Linked DNA regions of Homo sapiens: region 1 is linked to region 2. Evidence: promoter capture Hi-C in human tissues and cell types (Jung and others, 2019). All regions are on one chromosome and are shown on one strand. Each heading gives the region's core, a stretch centred on a gene start or on the middle of the fragment in contact. The rest is flanking DNA. Distances are from core to core; before and after follow the strand shown.

Region 1 (4,502 bases), core at 2,003-4,502, 600 kb before region 2:
GTGCTGCCAGCGTGTAGCCTTTCTGGTTGGTCGGGCCCTCGCCCAGCAGGATGCGGGCGACCTCGTGCATAGCCCCTCGTGTGCCCAGGGGCCCCGGCGGGTGCTCGCCTGCTTCCAGCACGTGGGCTGCCGCCTGCAGGGCTTCTTCCGCAGAGGCGAAGACTTGCTGGGCACCCAGGGCTCCGGAAACGCCGAGCAGTGTGGCACAGAAGTCAGAGAGCAGCGCGTCGTCACCGCCGTGATACAGGGCGAGAGTATGCGCGTAGGCGAACAGCACATTGGGCAGCTGGAAGCGCACGAGCGGCGAGACTGGGCCGCGGCTCAGGCTGACTATCGCGGGGATGCGGGTGGGTACGACGGGCGTGCAGGCCCCCGGGACATCTCCAAGAACCCGCTCGGCGGCCGCGGGCTCCGCGGCGGAGGCATCTTTCACAGAATCCGGCGGGGTCCTCGCAGGGGCGAGCTCCAGCTCCGCGGCGTCACTACCCGGGGCATTATCCAGCTCCTCCAGAAGCTGCGGTCCGGCTCCGCGGTTCCACCACCACGGCCGCCATGGAGGCAGCAGCCGCCCGGCCTCACCGCGGCTCAGCAGCCGCTCGAAGGCAGCTTTTTCGCCCGGCGCCAGCCGCTCCCAGAGTCCCGATAGGCCGCCGGGCGCCGGGCCGGAGCTGAGGCCTGCTTCCCCAGGCTCGTCCTCGGTCTCGCGTTGCTGACGCAGCCGGCGTAGGGCGCTTGCTAGGCGGCTGGGAGGAGCGCTGCAACCGCGGAGCTCTCCCAGCACCTGGTCACGGTAGAAGTTTTCTGCGCAGGTGCCATGCGTCCGGTAGCAGCGCAGCGAGCAGTAGGGCGCATTACAGCGAGGGCAGGTGTAACGCGCTGGCTGGACCTCCCCCGCCGGGCAGAAGCCACAGGGCCCGGCCGGCTCCATGGCAACTGGCACCGCGATCTACCTGCGAACGCACGCCGGTGGTAGTTCGAAACTTCCGGGGCTTCTTCGATTACTTCCGGTTCGCAGCGCGGCCGACGGCGCGCTGTGTTTTCGCAAAGCTTCCGAGGATTCTCGGCAATTTCCGCCCACGCCCGAAAGCCAAGCCCCACCCCTTTCCCTAGTAGGGCGAGAGCAGGCCCAGAAGCCGGGCGTCAGGTACGAGCCCCGCCCTATGCGATGACGCAAGGAGCGAAAAAATGGGTCTGGCGAGCGCTTCGCCGGTGCCACGTCTCCCCCTAGTGGTCACACCAAAACGTGGCCCGATCATCTAAAGAGAAAACCCTCTTTTTAGCACTACAATGTGCTGTGGCATAAATCCATCTTTACTAGGCACCTACTCTGGGCCACTAATTGTGCCAAGCCTACGGGAGGCGATGCATCCCTGCGCTGGACACAGACAAATAAAATGCACTAGGGGACACAGACAAATAAAAGGACAGTTAGGGCCAGGTACGGTGGGTCACGCCGGTAATCCCAGCATTTTGGGAGGCCGAGGCGGGCAGATGACCTGAGGTCAGGAGTTTGAGACCAGCCTGACCAACATGGAGAAACCCCGTCTCTACTAAGAATACAAAATTAGCCGGGCGTGGGGGACGGGTGCTTGTAGTCCCAGCTACTCCTGAGGCTGAGGCAGGGGAATCGCTTGAACCCGGGAGGTGGAGGCTGCAGTTAGCCGAGATCGCGCCACCGCTCTCCAGCCTGCGAGCCTGGGCCACAGAGAGAAACTCCACCTCAAAAAGATAAATAGAAAGCAGCATTTAAGAAATATCTGAGCTCCTATGATTTTTTTCCTCCAAAACTGCCTCTTCTTTTCATTAAGTATCTTCTCATTAAATACCACTATTCATCCATCTTATTAAGTGCAGGCCCCATTCTAGGTGCCAAGAACACAATGCACATCAAAGGGAGCCGGGGGTCCCTGTTCTAATAGAGCTCACTCTTGTGGTGGAGTGGGGGGTGTGATGAACCAAACTGTGAGTGTTCTTTGCATCCCTGCTACTACTGGTGGTCTAAGCTTCCTGACCCCTCATGTGGATGACAACACATTAAGTGTTTTTCCTAACTTTCTTGCCAGCCCTCCAGAAAAACCTGCCAGAGAAATTAGATCACAAGTCAGATGAGATCCATCTGTTACTCAAAACCCTTCTGCGACCCTCCATTGCACTTGGACTCAAACCCAAACTCCTCTCTATGGCTGACAAGGCCTTGCAGGATCTGCCCGCCCCCAGCCCTAGACATCACCTCTTCCCCATCTTCACACAGTCCTCTAGGCTTGAAATATTCCCCTACCTGATCACTTGACTGGTTCATCTCAGGTCTCACTCACGTCATTTAAACAGGACCTCTCGGCTGGGCACAGCGGCTGACACCTGTAATCTCAGCACTTTGGGAGGCCAAGGTGGGCGGATCACTTGAGCCCAGTTCAAGACCAGCCTGGGCAACATAGCAAAACCCTGTCTCTACAAAAAAGTACAAAAAATTAGCCAGGTGTGGCGGTGCATGCCTGTAGTCCTCAGCTACTTTGGAGGCTGAGTAGGATCACCTGGGCCCAGGAGTTGGCGGCTGCAGTGAGCCATGATTGTGCAACTGCACTCCAGCCTGGATGAGAGAGACCTTGTCTCAAAAACAAAAAAGAAAAGGCCGGGCACTGTGGCTCATGGCTGTAATCCCAGTACTTTGGGAGGCCGAGGTGGGCGATCACGAGGTCAAGAGATCGAGACCATCCTGGCCAACATGGGGAAACCCCATGTCTACTAAAAATACAAAAATTAGCTGGGCGTGGTGGCACATGCCTGTAGTCCCAGCTACTCAGGGGGCTGAGGCAGGAGAATGGCGTGAACCCGGGAGGCTGAGGTTGCAGTGAGCTCGGATTGTGCCACTGCACTCCAGCCTGGCGACAGTGCGAGACTCTGTCTCAATAAAATAAAATAAAGAAAAAAGAAAAACAAAAAAAGAGGCCCTCTCTGGGATGCTATTGTATCTGTCCACATCCTCCCCCTTTCTAAACTGCTGGAAGGCAGAAACCATGTCTTTAACACCACAGAGACAAAAATAGCCAAGATTCACACACTCACTGTAAGCCAGATGTTGATTTACATCCTTTAACCCTCACAGCAGCCCTGGAGATGGCAGAGATTAAATTAGTAGTTAGTTCAAAGGCCAGCCACCCAGTAAATGGAGTAGGAAGAAAAAGAAGGTCCAAACTCAGGCAGTCAAAGTCCACAGCCCAAGGGCTTTACCCTGTTGGATGCTATTTCTCAAGAACTGGCAGGTCCAGAAACTTTAGCTGAATGAGTAAGTGGGGTTCAGAAGTGCTGGGAGGCTCAGTTGCCAGAAGAGAACCCTGAATCAGCCCCAGAGGTAACCCAACTTTTGGGAACACTGAAACCTCACTATATCCAATCACAGATGTGATTAGGTTACCAAGTCCGGCCAGGCAGTCACAGAGGTACAAACGAGGCCATGCTCCCAACATAATATTTACTTCTAAAACCAAGGCAGACCAGATTCCTGCCCTGGACTCTAAGGCCACAGCTGGTACCAAGTTCAGGGAACGGCCAGGTTCACCTTCTATACAAACCTCTTCCCCCACCCATCCCTTCTATTGCTGCCTCCATAACAAACCTCTCACCACAGTGATTCCTGCTACCTTCTCTGTTTAGAAGATGAAAAAGAATGACCTGGGGGGACTGATCAAGTTACTTAGGATAGGGAATAACCCCAATTTTACATCTGAAGCCCCCCAGGATCTGTAGCTGTTTCTTCACAGGAAATTTCTCTTGTAGTTTACCATTTCTTCCCCCCATACCAAAGGCTTCTGCCTTTTCTGCCTCACTGTTCTCCTAGGGGACATACCACCAACCCGAGAAGCACACCTCTCCCTGAGGCCTTGCAAGTAAAGATGAAACAATGCGATGACTGAACTAAGTGGCTTTTTTATTAGAGAAAGCCAGAATTACAAAAGACTTAAGAGTTGGCATTGGGGCCCTTCTTCTTGCCAAAGGTGGGCACAACGTTGACAAAGCGCCGGTTGTACTGCATCCGCCGCTTAGCCCGACCTGTCTTCTTCTTCTTCTTCTCCTGTTTGGCCACCTGGAGAAGGGAAGGTTAATCAGGCCCTGGTTCCTGTCTTCCACACCTAGCATCCCTTCCCTCAGGCTCATCTCCAGGGAGGGAGAAGGCAAACCGAGTAAGAGCCCAGGGACTTGGTTTAGCTGTGAAAGGAAAAAAAGTCCTAACACCATGACCACTAATACTCTCACTCACCTTAGGAGTCTGACCTCTCACTTTTCCAGCACGGGCCAGGGAACCATGGACTTTACCTGTAGTGGGAAAGGAAGGCACCAGCAGGTAAGAGCAAGAAGGTGCCACCCAGCAGAACCCCTCTTTTCTCAATTCAAGCCTTTAAAGAGAAGCTGCGCCCAATAGGTAATGAGAACAAAGTTGCAGATATTTGACCTTGAAATCTTAAGTTTCATTTCAGGATCTTCCAGCTTCTAATTTTATAGAGCAC
Region 2 (4,789 bases), core at 209-2,708:
GCACCAAGGCGAGCTCCGGGCTCAGACCAACTCCAAGGTCAGCTGGCCACAGGCCCAGGCCTCCTCTGAAGCAGGGACCAGAGGGAGCCAGGCAGCTGTGTACAGTGAGAAGGGATCCGGATGGGGGAGCTCTGTACAGAGGGCTGGTGATTGTAAAAATTTCTTTTGTAAAGTAGAAGTTGGGGGTGGGGTGGGTGCTGGCTGCAAAAATTTCTGGCTTCTCTTACCCCTATTGCCCCCGGCAATAAATTGTTTCTATATGCCAGAGCCATGCAAAGTTCTTGGTGGGGAGGGGGAAAGGGCCCATGCTGGCTTAGGGGCTCTAAGGCGCCCAGACTCACAGGTGCTGTGAAGAGCTCCTTTATTGGGGTGATGGAATCGGTTCCAAAGAGCTGGTTTACTGCTGTGAAGGGATCGCAGCTTTGAATTTCAAGCTCTGGTTCTCAGTCCTCGGGCACCTGTGCGTGAATCTGCAACAGGAGTCGCCTCTACTGTTGGACTTGTAAGACAGGGCGGCAAGCTGGCCCCCATACCCGAGGAAGGACCCAGCTGTTCAGAATAACCGCTTCTAGACATGCTAGGAAGAGTGGTCAGGGAGCTACGCTTCCCACACACTACCCAGTAGAATCCTCCAGGCTCCGTCTGCGCAATTGTGCTCCCCAGCCCATCCACCCGGGGGCAAGACGGAACTCCTCGTCTACTCACCGCTGCCGCAAGGCTGGGCCAAGTTAAGGCCCCACGCACTTTGGCATCCGGGCCAGGGATGGTCTCCAGACCCCACAGGGTGAAGCGGCTGAAGTTGGCAGTGGCTCCAATGAAGCGGTCCTGGGGAAGGGGCCTGGCTCAGCATCGGGACTACAGCTCCCGCCCGCACCCCCTTTCAACCCTATCCCTTTGCTCACGAAGTCCCGCTCCAGCGGCTCCTCCTCTTGGTCGTCAGTCCCGGAATCCCGCAAGGGGTCTGGCTTCCCCATCGACACCTTCTTCTCTTCTGTCACCATCACGTATCCCACGAGGCCAGGCGGCACCGCCACCTCCTCTCCCCGTAGACAGCGGCCCCGAAACGACACTTCGAGTCCTGGAGCGGGAGGCGCAAAGGGCCTCAGGCAGGACCCACGCTGGGTCGAGCCCGGAGCTGCCCTCCCGCCACCTCCGGACGGACCACGATCCCCAGGAGCCCAGGCGATGAGAAGCGCGCAGGCCGGCGCGGGGGCTGCCGGGAGCCGTAGTCCGGCCGCAGGGCTCACCCTCGGGGCCCTGGCGGATGGCGGGCGTGAAGAAGCGCCCCACCGGGGCGGGCCCGTCCACCGCAACCTCGCAGGGCAGCAGATGCAGTGTGGCGGGTACGGCGTCGCGCAATGTGGCGGAGCGCAAGTGGACGCGGTGCCTCTCGATGGCCGCTTCGTCGCCGCTCTCCATCCTCCCTCCTACGCGACGCCAGGGCTCGCGAGCTGACACTGAAGCTGGCGCGGAAAGCGCGCAGGACCTCTCAGGAAGCCTCCGCGGGGCCTCACGGGAAGCCGCCGCGGAGCTTCACGGGAAGTGTAGTCCCCTTACCCCCTAACGCTTTCCCTGGGTTCAAGTCCTAGGGTTTTCCAGTTGTGTTTTGTTTTTTTCCTTCCTTCCTTCCCCCCTCCCCTCTTTCCTCCCTCCCCTCTCCCCCTCTCCTTCCCCCTCCCCCCTCCTTCCCCCTCCCCCCTCCCCCTCCTCCCTGCCTCCCTTCCTTCCCCCCTTCCCTTCCCTTCCTTCCCGTCCTTCCCTCTTTCTTTCTTTTTCTTATTTATTATTATTTTTTTTTGACAGAGTCTCGTTTTGTCGCCCAGGCTGGAGTGCCAGGCACGGTCTCAGCTCACTGCAACCTCCGCCTCCCGGGTTCAAGCGATTCTCCTGCCTCAGCCTCCGGAGTAGCTGGGATTACAGGCGCACACCACCATGCCCACCTAATTTTTGTATTTTTAGTAGAGACTGGGTTTCGCCATGTTGGCCAGGCTGGTCTCGAACTCCTGACCTCAGGCGATCCTCCAGCCTCGGCCTTCTGAAGTACTTGGATTACAGGCGTGAGACACCGCCCCCAGCCGGGTTTTTTTCTTTTATTGTTTTTAATGGCACATGTCGTTGTAAAAATCTAAAACGATTCTGAAAAGTACTCTTTTTATATTGATTAGTAGGTAGGTTATTCATTTTTAGTTTATTAGGGACATCAACCCTTTTCTTAAATGCATTGAAAATGTTTTATCTGTGGTCTGTCTTGCAAACCTGTGTAAAGGTGATTTTTGCTGGACAAGGACTTATTTTTGTGGTTGTTTGGTCTTTTAGACAAGGTCTCACTCGCCTAGGCTGGAGTGCAGTGGTTTGATTGGCTCACTGCAGCCTCGACCTCCCAGGCTTAATCCATCCCCCATCCTCAGCTTCCTGTGTAGCTGGAACCACAGGCCTGCGCCACCACGCAGCTAATTTTTGTATTTTTGGTAGAGGTGGAGTTTTGCCATGTTGCCCAGGCTGGTCTTGAACTCCTGGACTCAAGTGATCTGCCCACCTTGGCCTCCCAAATCACGCTGGAATTACAGGCGTGAGCCACTGCACCCAGGACAAAGACTAATTTTTTGTAGTCAAATTTATCAACACTTTTCAGTCTTTTAGATTTCACAATTTTCTCTCTTTGGTTTCTCAGCTCTTCTCTAATGTTTATTTGTTCAGACACCCAACTTAGATATATTTTTTCAAGTTCTCACATAAAACAAACACAAAACTGGAAATTTAGATTTAAATTGCGTTTAATTTATACATCCCTGCACATCTGGGAGCTGGCCTTGGTATTCTGTTGAATATAAACAATTTCAGAGAACATCAGCATCGGACAAGGTCACTCTGTGACCGTGAGGGAGCAAGACAGAAACAGAACCACTCCATCGTCACATCTGAATGCTGGCAAAGGTGAACACTGTCCAAACCACAAAAGGCATGAAACATCCCTCTTTCTCCCATAAGAGAGTGACTGTTGTTTCCTTACCAATTACAGCATTAGCCTCCAACTAATCTTCTCTCCTTCTGGGCAAGACTCATTAAGATAGTCCGTCATAGACATACCCCCACCTCTGACAGCATCCAAGCCAGAGAGAAGCCTGGCTTCCCTAAACCCTGACTGAAATCACTGAACATGGGCACAAATCCTCCTATAAGTCCTTTCTAGCACCCTCTTATTGAAATTCCCCAGAGTGCAGGAGTAATATACCCAATTTGTTCAACTGCAGATGTATTCCTGGTGCTCTTTCACTAGAGTGGCAGATTAATTTAGAAAAAGGCTTGCTTTAGTTTTCTATCAGGAAAGACATAATTCAATTTATTCACATCTCCTTGGATATCTGTACAGTTGTGAGGTTTTGTTCATATATAATAGCTATTAATACATATTGTAAAGTTTATTTCTTCTTAGCTTATATTAATAATTGTTTCTATTAAGAACTGAGGGGCTGGGCATGATGATTCACACCTGTAATTCCAGTGCTTTAGGAGGCCAAGATGGGGGAGGATTGCTTGAAGCCAGGAGTTTGAGACCGGCCTGGGAAACATAGCAAGACTCCGTTCCTACAAAGAAAAAAATTTTTTTAAACATGAGTGGGGCACAGTGGCATGTGCCTGTAGTCCCAGCTACTCAAGAAGCTAAGGTGGGAAGATCACTTAAGCCAAGGAGTTTGAGGCTGCCGTTCGAGTCACGATTGCACCACTGCACACCAGCCTGGGTTACGGAGGGAGACCCTTTCTCTAAAAACCAAAATTGGGGCTTTTATTTTTTTCATTTTATTTTCTAACTGATTTTCTTTTTAATCTATAGCAGGGGTTGGCAAACTTTTTCTGTAAGGGGTCAAATAGTAAATATTTTAGGTTTTGTGGACTTTATGGCTTCTGTCGCAGCTACTCAACTTCACCGTTATAGCATGAAAGCAGTCATAGACAATACATAAATGAATGAGCGTTGTTGTGTTCCAGTAAATCTTTGCAGAAACAGACAAGGGGTTGGATTTGAACCACAGGCCATAGTTTTCAGACCCCTTGTCTATAGCAAACCTGTTGATTTTTATATGTCCATTTTTAAACTAGATATCGACTGAATTATTTTGTTCCTAATGATTTTTATTTTATTTTAAGATCCCCAGAATTAGTCACCTCTCTTTCAAATAATAATTTTTACCTCACCATTACATCTTCTTTTTGTTTTTTGTTTTTTGTTTTTTTTTTTTCATTACACCTTGTAATTTGTTTTCTTTTCTAATTGCCTTGGCCAGTACTTGCAGAACAGTCTCTCAAATGTTACTGGTATCAGAGGACAACATTGTCTTTTTCCTGAAACTTTCACGGGAGTGCTTCTGCTGTTTCACCAATAATCATGAAACTGCCTTTTGACTTGTTATATATGTCTCATTAAAGCTGTACTACTAAGAGCTTTTAAAAATTGGGAGTAGATGTTGGATCTTATTTTTTATTTTTATGTTTTTGGTTTTGCAAGTTTCCTGTAGTCTGGATATTAGTAATTGCATTCCTATAGTGTCAAGGTAATCTATACCTGTATTTTCTGTAATTACATCTAGAAGCTTAATTCGATTCTTTGGGGAGGGGAGAGGGCAAGACTACTTCATGGGTGGTTTTGTGTTTTTCCCTCTTTTTGTGAGGTTAGCAGCCATAGATGATCATTGCCTAGATCCTTTAATTCATTAGAGGTTAAAACGCGTGTGTACGCGCACACACACACACACACACACATATTTTTGGGACAGAGTCTCACCTGGTAGCC

The links. The method cuts DNA at HindIII sites, captures the fragments that hold promoters and counts their contacts. A contact is called where the count stands out against the background at its distance.
Region 1: a contact is called between a fragment that was not itself captured here and the fragment with the promoter of RNASEH2C in region 2, in 1 of the 25 tissues and cell types used here (aorta).

What each region holds. Positions count from the first base shown.
Region 1 is chr11:65,116,726-65,121,227 of GRCh38, forward strand. FAU (FAU ubiquitin like and ribosomal protein S30 fusion) reads right to left here. Exons shown (of 5, transcript NM_001997.5): 4 at 4,256-4,311; 5 at 3,905-4,081. The coding sequence ends at 3,956. It overlaps ZNHIT2 (zinc finger HIT-type containing 2), which reads right to left and starts at 976. Exons shown (of 1, transcript NM_014205.4): 1 at 1-976. The coding sequence starts at 928. RefSeq lists enhancers at 396-939, 932-1,226. The HindIII fragment of the contact is 3,455 bases long and covers 1,526-4,502 here.
Region 2 is chr11:65,719,340-65,724,128 of GRCh38, forward strand. RNASEH2C (ribonuclease H2 subunit C) reads right to left here and starts at 1,459. Exons shown (of 4, transcript NM_032193.4): 1 at 1,248-1,459; 2 at 903-1,078; 3 at 706-825; 4 at 1-470. The coding sequence starts at 1,419. The coding sequence ends at 444. It overlaps KAT5 (lysine acetyltransferase 5), which reads left to right. Exons shown (of 13, transcript NM_182710.3): 13 at 1-265. RefSeq lists a silencer at 1,145-1,384 and an enhancer at 1,535-1,604. The HindIII fragment of the contact is 7,035 bases long and covers 1-4,789 here.